Regions from separate parts of the Homo sapiens genome. Here region 1 is linked to region 2. The links are contacts of gene promoters, found by promoter capture Hi-C in human tissues and cell types (Jung and others, 2019). All regions are on one chromosome and are shown on one strand. Each heading gives the region's core, a stretch centred on a gene start or on the middle of the fragment in contact. The rest is flanking DNA. Distances are from core to core; before and after follow the strand shown. Region 1 has its middle 36 kb from the start of MAF. Region 2 holds the start of WWOX (WW domain containing oxidoreductase).

The links. The method cuts DNA at HindIII sites, captures the fragments that hold promoters and counts their contacts. A contact is called where the count stands out against the background at its distance.
Region 1: a contact is called between a fragment that was not itself captured here and the fragment with the promoter of WWOX in region 2, in 1 of the 25 tissues and cell types used here (dorsolateral prefrontal cortex).

The regions. Positions count from the first base shown.
Region 1 is chr16:79,561,468-79,568,010 of GRCh38, reverse strand. It overlaps a transcript of MAF not described here. Among named protein-coding and RNA genes, the nearest start is that of MAF, 36 kb to the left of the region's middle. The HindIII fragment of the contact is 3,788 bases long and covers 1,952-5,739 here.
Region 2 is chr16:78,098,404-78,105,101 of GRCh38, reverse strand. It overlaps WWOX (WW domain containing oxidoreductase), which reads right to left and starts at 5,448. Exons shown (of 9, transcript NM_016373.4): 1 at 5,217-5,448. The coding sequence starts at 5,323. RefSeq lists an enhancer at 4,715-5,214. The HindIII fragment of the contact is 7,138 bases long and covers 3,439-6,698 here.

The DNA.
Region 1 (6,543 bases), core at 2,596-5,095, 1.5 Mb before region 2:
TGATTATCATTCTGTAATAAATCTAAGCTCTGGAGTCTGTCGATACAAGAAGGCCAACCTGCCTCTTTGGAAAATAAAGATTTGTACATTAAGCTTAACTTTCAGCTCTGCGACGCAGGAGAAAATTCACCTTTAGAGCCTTATAAAAATAAATAGGGAACTCAAAGAGACATTAGCTGGCAGGTGGAAGATTCCATTTCTGAGGACTAGAAGGTATTTTGCACACATCTCCCTAGACATAGGAAAGCCTGTTGCCCTGTAGATGGGATTTACTTATTGGAAATGCAGATCACTGAGCTGCTCATGGAGGCGATGGTAGGCAGGGAGGAGATACCCAGCAAGGCCTTGTGCCAAGCCCAGTGGGGAGAGGCCATGCTTCACCTTCTGAAGCCCTCACTTTATTTAATTCTCATTAAATTTGACCCAGATCAGGACAGGAAAAATATACAAACAGACAAAACTAGTTTGCTAATATCATTGGTCATTTTTTTTACTTACTTTTTTTAAAAAAGAAAAAGCAAAAAGATAAAACAAAAAAATCCCTTGCCTTGTGGCTTCTATGGATCCGTTTCTCAGTTGATTTGACAGTATGTGGATGTATCTGTGTATGTGTATAATCAAACTAAGGTAGTAATCAAAACTCAGATTGAATGAGTGACCCCTCTAGCTAATATTTGCATTTTTTTTTTTCTGAGGTGGAGTCTTGCTCTTGTCACCCAGGCTACAGTGCAATGGCACGATCTTGGCTCACTGCAACCTCTGTCTCCTGGGTTCAAGCGATTCTCCTGCCTCAGCCTCCCAAGTAGCTGGGATTACAAGCTCCTGCCACAATGCCTGTCTAATTTTTGTATTTTTAGTAGAGACAGGGTTTCGCCATGTTGGCCAGGCTGGTCTCGAACTCCTGACCTTGTGATCTGCCTGCCTTAGCCTCCCAAAGTGCTGGCATTACAGGCGTGAGCCACCATGCCCCACCTAATGTTTGCATCTCAATTGTAGGTAGTCTTTCTTTATATGCATTTACTTCATCCCAGACAGCCAAAAGATTACCTTCCAGGACTCTATAAAATGCCCTAAGAGGTATTCAAGATTCTATCCAAGTCCATTTTTCTGGAAAGAGGGTCCCTACATCCATCAGAGCCTCAAAAGCTTCAGCAGCCAAAGAGGATTTGGAAATCAAACCACAGGGTTCCAAAGGCCTTTTCCCTCCGGGTGAGAGTCCCATTTCCATGAAGTGTGGAAGGAGTCGGGAACTGGAGGTTCCTTAGGGCCCTGCACATCTCACCAAGATGAAGGATTCAGGCCAAGTAGACTCCAGTTCAGGGTTCATCCACTAACTCAGGCTGGGGGATGGGGGACATTACACTTTGCTCTTGAACCTTGGCTTCTTCCCCCAAGATCCACACTTGTGGCGTGGTCAGGAGGGCCAAATGGCCACGAGGGTGCAGAGTGAAAGGAATGCATGTCCAGGATCAACCCTCCAGAGATGGTTGGTTTGGTTAGCACTGAAAGGTGGGCAAGATGCTCCCATGGGCCCTTCCTTCCCAGAAGCACCATCACTCCGTCAGCTCAGCACGGATCCACTGGGCCATCAACAGGGAGGACTGGGGGTCTTGCAGTACAGTCCCCACTCCCTGCTGTGAATCCCAGCCCAGGCCCCTCCGACCATTCCCTCAGCTCTTACAGCCTTTTGTAAGACCCTAAGATTAATCTGTCCCACATTGGTCTAAAAGTGCCACAAAGATGAAACTGTGTCCTATATTGATGCATGGGGATTGTCTTTGTATCTCTAATGGCAGAGTGTTGGCAATTAATTGGTCCTTACAGATATATGGATATGTACATTTCTTTAAAAAAAAGAAACTGATGATCTACAGAGATGTTGTTCTGGATGCAGATCAGAATTACCTGTGAGTTGGTTGGGTTTTGTTTGGTTGCGTTTGTTTGTTTTTAATACACAAACCTAGACCTAAGAGCCAGGAGGATCAGAGTGGCCCAGGGTCTATCAGTGCAGGGTGAATTGTGCATGGCCTAGAGTCTGCCAGACTTGATGTCCAATCCTTGTCCTGTCAGTTTCTAGCTGTGTGACTTGAAGCAAGAGACTGTCTCTTTCTGAACTTCAGTTTCCTCATCTATCAAGTGGGAGAAAATACTGCCTACCTCGGAATATTTCAGAATAGTGCTCTCAGTATAGGGTTTTCAACATCCCTGAGCCTGCTAAGTTTATCAGTCCATTCTTATACTAATAAACACATACCTGGGACTGGGTAATTTATAAAGGAAAGAAGTTTAGTTGACTCAGAGTTCAGCATGGCTGGAGAGGCGTCAGGAAACTTACAATTATGGCAGAAGGGGAAGCAACATGAAGGCGGGAAGGAGAAGTGCTGAGCGAAGGGAAAAGAGCCCCTTATAACAGCATCAGATCTCATGAGAACTCACTATCACAAGAACAGCATGGAGGTAACCACCCCCATGATTCAGTCACCTCCCAACTGGTCCCCCCCCCCACAACACGTGAAGATTGTGGGACCTACAGTTCAAGGTGAGATTTGGGTGGGGACACAGCGAAACCATATCACTGAGTGAAAGGGAGGTAAGGGAGAGTTGTGATATCATAGTCCCAGGTCAGCAGACCTTTTCTGTAAATGGCCAGGTAGTCAATCATTTAGGTTTCAAGGGCCACATGATCTCTGCTGCAGCTGCTCAACCCTGCCATCGACAATATGTAAATGAATGCCCCTGGTTGTGTTTCAATAAAGCTTCTTTTTTCCACAAAAACAGGTAATTGGGCCGGGTTCAACTCCCATAGACCCAGCTTGCAGAGGCAACGTAGAGGATTGTAACTGGGTATTTTGGGTCTTTGGTAGCAGAAAATTTGGCTCTGAATGGTGTGAACACCCTGGGACTAGTTATCTCCCGTAAGAAGTCCAAGGGTAGGTGCCCTTGCAAAGCTGTTTATTTCCACAGCTGAATGATGTCAGGGCCCGGACTCTTGCCCTCTCCCAGCTCCACCATTCTCAAGCTTCAGATGTAAGACATGTGTAAGGTTCGAGGTACCACATTTTTTACACCAGCCCACCCAAAACCAGAGGCAGAGAGTGTGCAGCCCTTTATTCCTTCGTAAGAGCAAGGAATGTTTTGCAGAAGTCGCTTCCCCACATAGTTAATAGGCTGCAATTGTCAGGCGTCCATCCCTCTGTCAATGGTTGGCCTTGGTTATGCAATTAACCATTACAGGTTTGGACTGGTCAAGGTTCACCCCACACATGCTCCACAGGGCTGGGGATCTGCCAGATTTCCCCACAGCCACACTGTCTGGGCAGACCTGAATAAAATCCTGACTTTCATTAACAAAGAAGATGGGTGGGTCGGACCACTGTGGGCTGCCACAGGGTGCTCCATGCCCCGAGAGTTGTCACATGGACAAAAGAAGGCGCTGTGGGTGACAGTACTTTGTAAACAGTGCGGCTTCTTCAGGATGTGCCCAGTGGAAGTCTTCTTCCATCAGGGAAGTTATCAGGCTCAAAGATGTATTATTTCTAAGTAAACCAGTGTGCCCAGTTCATAGCTACTTCCCCCTTGCCTATCTCTGGGTCCCCAGTTGACACTGTTGACCTTATTCGGCTATAAACTGATTCCTCACTTTTCTTCCCCATAATTCTTCTTTCCTTCTCCCCCGCAACTAGAAGAAAGAAACTTCTAGGTAACAAATGCAAAAAAGAAGTCTTCCAGCAAGGCAGGCACACTTCCTAGGACCAAGAAATACTCCTTCCGTCTTCTCCTGAAACAAAACAAAACAAAAAATTGCTAAGGTAAAGAGGAGGAACGCTGCCCTGCCAGGACTTTGCATTTAATTATGTAGTGAAAGCCACTTAGCAGAAATCCCAGGAGGCCTGAAGGGGCGGCAGTGGCCATGGGGGAGGGAATCTGTTGAAAGCAGGGTCTGCTCCACTTGAAATGCATCCCACCTGCCTGAAAGGTCTCTCTTTTTTCCTTTGAAATACGTGGAATTATGAACTAGATTAAGAATAAACTTCAAACCTAAGCTAATAGTTTGAGGCTGGCTTTCCCAACATCCAAAAATGATCACAGGTGATCCTGTCCTGAGGAGTTTGGATGATACTTTTTGGATGTGAAATTAAAAAGGAGTAGAAGGCTTTTTACTTCTCAACCAGAATTGCTAGGTGAGTGTAAGGAATCAGATATGAAAACTCCCTGAGAACATCTCAGTGGTCACACGTGTGTGTGTTTGTGTGTGTGTGTGTGTGTGTGTGTGTTTGCTAGCTAATTATTAAGACATCTATAGCTGTCCAATAAGAAATATAATGTAAGCCACATTTTAAATCTTAAATTTTGTAACAGCCTCATTTAAAAAAGTAAAGAGAAACAGCTAAAATGATTTTTAATATTATTTTAAATGCCATAAATCAAAAGTATTATGATATCAATGCATACTCATTATAAAAAATGTATTACTGAGATATTTCACAAATCTTTTTTTTTTTTTGGTGCCAAGTCTTTAAAATTTGATGTATATCTCAATTTGGATTCTAAATGTTCAATAAGGTTAAAGTGAAATGGAGTTTGACCACAACAATAAAGATGTACTTAACAGAAAGAAACAATATTTTCACTGCTTCAGTTTTTAAATTTAAACACAAAGTAGTTAGAGTCAAACAAAATTAATAATTTAGTTCTAGAGACACACTGGCCACATTGCCAGTGTTCTGTAACCACACATGGGCAGCGGCTGTCACATGAGACGATGCACTAAGCTCTAGAGTTTTCAGAGTTACTTGAGTTATCCAGTTGAAAACCTTTACCTGCCAGATTGAGGTTTAGCTTTGGTGTCTGGAAAGTCCAGTGCTTTATGGGTACAGCCTTCAGCCCGTACGATAAATCCTCCTGAGCGTAAGTTCTGCTGTCTGTTTCCATAGTATAACCACCTAGTGCAAGCCTAGATGTAACACTGACTTGATATTTGCTGAACGGATGAATGGACAGGAGGAGGCACAAATGAACCTGCTGACCAGTAGACACATTTGAATTTGAAATTGAGGCCTGAAGGATTTTTGCTTTTGTTTTGTTTGAATTTGATTTGGATCTGAAAAAGAAGGGAAAGATCTACTCTGTTTTCTGGACCTGGGGAGGGGCCTGAATCCAGGCAGGCAAGTATGACGGTCTCATAACCAGACCCACTTCCTGGGTGGGATGATGTCTCCTCTTCATCTTCCACTTGTTTTCCTAGGAGTGAGTACAATACTGAGTTGGAGCCCTGGACAACAGCTTTGTGGTGAGTGGGTGGCCTTCTCCAAAGCATGGGGGATTAAGAATGAGGATTAGAGAGATCTTGGCACTTCAGCCTGGAGTCCGAGGTCTACAGATGTTGAGAAATTTGTGTTCTTAGGTCTGTGTTCAGGGACAAGGCTGAAAGACCTTCTGTGGTGTTAGTTGGCAGCCAGGGTGTAGATGATGTAAAGAAATGTTTTGTGGTCTGGTTAGACAATGGGCCTTTAAGCCTACAAAATGTATTTTTCCCAAGGGTAATAACTATATCTCTGACTCCTATAGGTCCTGGAGCTGGTGAGGGAGTTCACTTGCCATTTCCTTATCCTTCCATCCATTTATTCATTCACGGGTCACATCATCTATGAAGAAACTATTGTTTAAGGCAGTGAGATGCTGGGACTATCAATGGGAACAAAACAAACCTTGTCCATGTCTTTGTACTGCTTCACAATTCGTTGGTGTAGATGAGCTTTACACAAGTAATTCATTACAATTATGCCAAGTACCGTAAAGACTGGGAACAGAATGGTGTGACTAGACGTGGTCTGAATATTACATGTTTTAAGTTGAATATTTAGGGATGAGCAGGATTATGTCTTGAGAAGTTAAGGGAATAGGGATGGAAAGGGGGAATGTTTTCCAAGTAGAGCAAGGAATGTGTTAGAACGCTGAAGACCAACAAGAGGTAATAGCTGCCCAGTGGTTTTGAGCTTGCAAACATAAGTGATTGTGAGCCTGGGGACAAACGGCTCATGTTGAACCAGAGATACTGTTGTGTCTACTCTTGGCTCGCTTGTACCCAGCTGAGTGCCCTGCAATACTTCAGGTGCTCAACAAATATTTTCTGTATAAATGAAGGCAAATAGTTACTCTTGGTTAATCCTAGCTTTGGAGGTCATTCCTGTCAAACATCCAAACACACCGTCTCCTCTCTTCTCAGTCCATTGAGTTTCATTCGGAAGTGTGTGGATAATTCTTCTAATTTTTATTTGGCTTTGAAGACCATTTTTTCTTCTTCTCCTCAAGACATTGTAGGGGCAGTGGAGATTCCTGCTCCCTTTCCTGAAGGTTCCAGTGTAAAATGTTTCCTTTGTAGGGACATGGATGAAGCTGGAAACCCTCATTCTCAGCAAACTATCGCAAGGACAAAAAACCAAACACTGCATGTTCTCACTCGTAGGTGGGAATTTAACAATGAGAACACGTGGGCACAGGAAGGGGAACATCACACACCGGGGACTGTTTTGGGGTGAGGGG
Region 2 (6,698 bases), core at 4,199-6,698:
CTGTGGCAACAGAAAGCATCTCCAGACATTGCCAGCCGTCCCCTGCAGGACACAACCATCCCTGGGGAAGAATCCGGAACCAGCTGAAGCAGAGAGAGTAATTTGGTCGTGAAGATTCTGAAGCCCAACTGCCAAGGTTTTCTGGGTCTCCCATTTGCCAGCCACTCTGCCCTTGAAGAAGTCATTTAATCCCATGCCTCAGTTTCCTCAACAGTTTAGATGGGGACAATAACAGCACTTACTTCTTGGGGTTATAGAGAACCGAGTGAGTTAACACGGGAAGAACTAAGAACTGTACCTTTCAATAGAAGACTTTTTTTTAATAAATATAAAAATTAATTAAAAGATGTTCTTTTTAATTATAACCTTAAATGACTTTTTAATGAAGAGAAAATTAGAACACATGTCCCCTAAGCATTCTCCTATTCTCCTTTAAATAGAAGCCGTCTTTGATTTTTTATTCTTTCAACGAGCTTGTCATTTAAAAAGATAATTAAGAGTAATCTAAACTTAAACCAAAGGATTCAAATTTAAGTGAACATCATATTATGTGAATACCACACTTCCACGTATGGGGTGTTTTCTGTTAATTTTTTTTTAGACAAGGTCTCATTCTGTGGCCCAGGCTAGAGTACAGTGATGCAATCATAGCCCACTGCAGCCTCGAGCTCCTGGGCTCAGGCGATCCTCCCACCTTGGCCTCCCACCATGGCCAGCCTATGGGTGTGTGTGTGTGTGTGTATGTGCGTGCATGCGTGCGTGCGTGCGTGTGTTTTTTGAGCACAGTGTAAGTTAGCAGGGAGATCTAGAGTTGACAGTGAGGACAGCCAGTGTGTGTGTGTGTGTGTGTGTGTGTGTGTGTGTGTGTGTTTTGAGCACAGTGTAAGTTAGCAGGGAGATCTAGACTTCACGGTGAGGACAGCCAGCCCTGTGGACACAGGCACCATTGAGGCCTCTGACTGCCAAAAGGCCTGAGCTTCATAAGAGGCACGGGGAAGGGCAAACAAGGACGGCTCTGACACTGAGACCTTGTCCCTCACTTCCCATCTCCCATGAAGGGGCTGCTCTGAGACTGTGAGGGGAGAGGGGTAGAAGAAAGGCCCACCAGCTCTCTTGGGTTCCCGGTCTACCTCGACCTCACCCCTGGGAGCCCACCCTGGTGGGCTTTGGAGTGCTAGGACATGTGTGCCTTTGAGGCACACAAGTGAACCGTGAGGCAGGTGGGAAAGCAGGAGAGGCCGACAGCACCCACACAAGACCGGGTTCCACCAGACCCCGAGGTCTCAGTGGGAGCTACAGCCTCTATCCCTGGCCATGGCCCTGCTACAGTAGGAGAAACAATATGGAAAAGAAATGACTCAAAGAGCAGCCTCCTAGAAAGAACAACCACAAAGTTTCCCAAACCCCAAGAGAAAAACAAGTGTCACTTCCAGAGTCAGGAATGAAAAGGGGTTGGAGCCAGCGCAAAAATTAAAACTGAAAAGAAAAGAAGGGCCAGGATGCTCACAGATCAGGAGAGATCAAGGGAATGTCGGGTTAGGATGGATCAGAGGCATCCTAAGCTAACACCCAAAGAATTTCAGCCTTTCAACCCTGATCCAGAGAACTGAGGGCCAGCAGGGACGGACACAAGGTCCAGAGAGTGAGCCCTCCAGCTGAGAGCCAGCCAAGCCCTGGCATCTCAGCTGGTGTATACAATAAATAGCTAATGCACGGGGGGCTGAACAACTAGGTGATGGGTTGACAAGTGCAGCAAGTCACCATGGCACAGGTTTACTTATGTAACAAACCTGCACATCCTGCACATGTATCCCGGAATTTAAAGTTAAATTAAATTAAAAAAAAAAAAAAAAAAAAAACAGCGGAGCCAGAGAGGCCAGCTTGAGATTTAAGACACTAGTCGGGAGGGCTGGAGGAAAGGCGTTTGGAAACCATGTATGCACCCGAGTCCCCTGGCCAGGGGCCACTCAGGAAGAAAGCAGATGGGAGAAAGGCCAGGCAGCAGGAAGGCAGGCGCAGGGGGCACGCAGGAGCAAGGGAGCCCCAGGGCCCTAGCGCCAGGCTCCAGGGCAAGCCTGCAGGGAAGCAGAAGCACCTCTGGGGCTGAGTGGCAAAGGAGGAGACGCCCCACAGAGCCAGAGGCAGAGGTGGGCTTAGGAAGCCGGAAGCGGGTCATGTGCATCTTTGTACTCTGGGGCCCAGTGCACCACCCACCCACCCACAGAAGCCTGCGGCTGACCCTCCCAAGGTGATTCATTTACTCATCCCACAGGGGCTCATCTTATGGCTTCTGGGTGCCAAGCACTGGGGACACTCAGATGAACAAGCTGCCCCATGACATCTGCAACCTGGGCAAGGGAGACAGGGCCAACAAGGAGGAGTACACAGCCAAGGCTAAGCACGAAGAAGCAGAGAAACAAGGTGACTAGTACAAGGTCGAGGGGACACCCACAGTTAAGAAGGTCTCTTGGGCAGTGACATGTAAGCTCAGCTCTGAAGGATGAGAAGGAGCCTTTCCCCAACAGATGTACAGGTGAGAGGAACAGCAAGTGCCCGCTCAGGAGCTTGCCTCCGTCCCTGCAAAGGCTACTGGAGCTCTGCTGCTGGAAATGTCCCTTTAATTCTCCAGAGCCAGAAATTCTTCCAGAATTCACAAGCTGAATGAATGCCACTCTCTGGCTCTGCCAACAGAGCCCAAGCTTCTCGGCAAGGCACAGAAATCCTTGAAATGGGTCCTCCCTTCCCTGCCTTAACCTTCACATTCCTGGACCCTCACAAAGATCACAGGCCCCTGGACAGGCCATGCAGGGGGTCTCTCCTCTCACTGTTCCCTCTACCTAGACTGCCCTCCTGCCCCACCCACCTCTACTTGAGCTCAAAACACCGCTCTGGGCTTGGCACAGTGCCTCAGGCCTGTGATTCCAGTGCTTCGGGAGGGAGGCTGGCTTGAGTTCAGGAGTTCAAACCAGCCTGGGCAACATGGTGAGACCCCATTTCTACAAAACATGTAATAATTAGCTGGGTGTGGAGGCACACACCTGTGGTCCCGGGTACTCAACAGGCTGATGCGGGAGGATCGCTTGAGCCCAGGAAGTGAAGGTTACTGTGAGGGTGCCACCATATTCCCTCACGACCCCCCCAACTACCTACACACACCTCATGCCAGACACACTACTTCCTGGTATACACACTGCGTGGGGACGCTCCTACACATGTCACTGTGCCCTAATAAGATTGGGTCCTAAGGATGACAACTGGCTCTTATTTGCCTCGGTATAACCAGTGCCAGCCAAAGGCCTGTCACATAATACCTGTGTGTGTCTTGAATGAACTCATCAGAACTTGGTTGTTTTTCCTCTACCTTGCCACCAAAGGCAGCAGTGGTTCACATCCTTGCATAGATTAGAATCACCTGGGAGGGAAGATTTTACAACCTACCAAGGGAGAGGGGAGGGGCCAAACCAATTAAATCAGAAATTCTGGGCTGACGCAGTGGCTCCTGTCTGTAATGCCAACACTTTGGGGGGCCGAGGTGGGCGGATCACTTGAGGCCAGGAGTTGGAGACCAGCCGGGCCAACAGCGCGAAATTAGCCAGGCCTGGTGGCGGGCGCCTGTAATCCCAGCTATTCGGGAGGCTGAGACACGAGAATCGCTTGAACTCGGCATGCAGAGGTTGCAGTGAACCGAGATCGCACCACGGCACTCCAGTTTGGGCGACGGAGCGAGACCCTGTCTTTAAAAAAAAAAAAAAAAAGGCCGGGAGCGGTAGCTCACGCCTGTAATCCCAGCACTTTGAGAGGCCGAGGCGGGAGGATCACGAGGTCAGGAGATCGAGACCATCCTGGCTAACACGGTGAAACCCCGTCTCTACTAAAAACACAAAAACTTAGCCGGGCGTGGTGGCGGGCGCCTGTAGTCCCAGCTACTCGGGAGGCTGAGGCAGGAGAATGGCGTGAACCCGGGAGGCGGAGGCTGCAGTGAGCCGAGATCGCGCCGCTGCACTCCAGCCTGGGCGACAGAGCAAGACTCCGTCTCAAAAGAAAAAAAAAAAAGAAAAACCCTCTGGAAGTGGGGCCCAGAAAAAGGCTCTTACAAAAAAAGTTTCCCAGATGCTGAAAATCAGATTTACATCCATGTTTCTCAAAACCAGGTGATATTCCACCTCACCTGGAAAGCTTAAAAAAAGAGACTCCCAAAGTTGAGAGTCGGCTACAGTAGGTTCTCTATGGAGACCCAAAACGTGTATTTAGGACATTTCCTAGGTGATTCTAAGGTGCCGATATAAGAGGCACTGTCGTATCTTAAGAGCAATCAAGGAACGACAGTTAAGGAACAGAGAGTACCTACTAGACACGGTGCTATGTGCTTTACGCACAGTGCCTGAACTGACCCTCGTATCAACCCATTTTACAGGTGAAAAAACCAAGATTAAACGTTATTTCAATGGCCCAAGGTCACACAGTTAAAGATGAAGGCTCTGCTGGGGTTTCCAAAACTTTCCCAGGAAATGATAGTGAAGCTATCTAGGACTGCTACTAAAAAATACTCCTGGCTAGGCGCAGTGGCTCACGCCTGTAATCTCAATTCTGGAGGCTGAGGCAGGTGGCCTGCTTGAGCCCAGTAGTTCGAGACCAGCCTGGGCAACATGGTGCGACCCTAGTCTCTACAAATACTTAAAAAATTAGTCGGGCATAGTAGTGCACGCTTGTAGTCCCAGCCACTCAAGAGGCTGAGATGAGAGGATTGTCTGAACCCAGTAGGTAGAGGCTACAGTGGGCTATGATGGCACCCCTGCACTCCAGCCTGGATGACTGAGCAATACCGGTCTGGACAAAACAAAACAAAACACAACAAAACTCCTATCCCTGCAACCCAGAGCCTGCAGGAGGGAGCTGAGCATGTGCGCTTTTTAAAACATCTTTATTTTTTGGCGGGGATGAGGCCGCTTTGCCCTCGCCGCGCCGCGCAGTGCTGCATCCTGAACAGCAGAGGGCGCGCCGGGAAGCCACCAGGTGACCCCCGCTGGACCCGAGGCCCACCAAGGGGGCCGGCCCCTACTGGGAACCCTGGACCCTTTTCCCTGAAGCTCCTTAACAGTTACTTTCACTTTGCACCGCACGCGCTGCGCTGGAGTGCGCGTCCTCCCCGCGCAGGTGGCGTCCGTGGGCTGTGCAGGGTCCCAGGTGCGTCCGCGGCCCCACTGCGGCCCCCTTACTTGGCGTAGTAAACCCAGCCGTCCTTGGTGGTTCTCTCCTCCCAGCCCGGAGGCAGCTCGTCCTCACTGTCCGTGTCGTCCAGCCCCGCGTAGCGCAGCGCTGCCATGGCTGACTGTGGAGGCACCTGGCCCCCCTATCGCCCGCTGCCGGGTCCACTCGCTCAGGAACTCACTCCCGCTCCAAACGAGACCCGCGCGCGTCGGGGCCCGACCGCTCACGCCTGCGCACTGCGCCCTCCAGGGGCCGCTCCGCCGACCACGAAGCTGAAATCCAGTCTCCGCAATATCGCGACGGCCGGCGTCAAAGGGGCAGGGCCTGGAGAGGAAGGCGGTGAAAGTGCCTAAGAGATCGCGCTGCCGCCGGGCTAGACAGCAAAGCCGGAGAGCGCTCCGAGGCGCTAGAGATAGAGCGGAGCCTTGTCAGCCTCCCCGCCGCAGGGAAGGGGCGTGCGCATCCAGTTTCGGGCCAGGACTCCGCCCGTTGCTGGGCGACCCGTAATCACTTCCGCGTTGTTCTGGCCAATCCTGCAGGAGCCCGGCAATTGGATATGGGAAATGTAGTCCAGGTGGCGCCTGACCAAAAAGCGGCGCCCGACTAAAAAGCGGCGCCCATGCTGTTGTCCTGGGCTTCTGTCTCTCCTTGCCTTGGGGTCTCGTGAAAGTCCGTGATCACAAACCTTCCAGGGCTTGCCAGCATTCGTGCTGATTCACAACCTTTGTTTTGCATATGAACACAATGTTAAAATATAACCTGGAGAACTTAAAACTGCTGATTCCTGATTTCCTGGTTTTAGAGAACTTTCTTTCAGCCAAAACACATAATAGAGACTGTGATAATAGAGACTGTTGTTTAATAGAGACTCATGATAATAGAGACTGATGATAATAGAGACTGATTGATAATAGAGACTGTTGATAATAGAGACTGATGTTTACGGAGCACTTAATGTGCGGTCCAGGCCAGAAATGCACAGACATCACATGTAGCTGACACCTTTGTGTAGTGGGCACAACTCAGACAGGGTAGCTAGGCCGGGCTCAGTGGCTCATGCCTGTAATCCAAACACATTAGGAGGCTGAGGCAGGAGGATCACTTGAGGCCAGGAGTTTGAGAACAGCCTGGGCAACATCGCAAGACCCCTGTCTTTACCAAAAATAATTATTTTTTTAGTTTGCCGGGCGTGGTAGTGCACATCGGTAGTCCCAGCTACTCATTGAGGCTGAAGGGGGAGGATCACTTGAGCCCAAGAAGTCGAGGCTGCAGTGAGCTATGATCGGGCCACTGCACTCCAGCATGGACGACAGAGAGAGCTGCTGTCTTTAAAAAACTGCCTCACCTTTAGAGAATTTCCTTTAGTAAGTCTGGAATAGGTCCAGAATCTGGAAAGAAAGGGAGGGAGGGAGGGAGGGAGGGAGGAAGGAAGGAAGGAAGGAAGGAAGGAAGGAAGGAAGGAAGGAAGGAAGGAAGGAAGGAAAATAAAA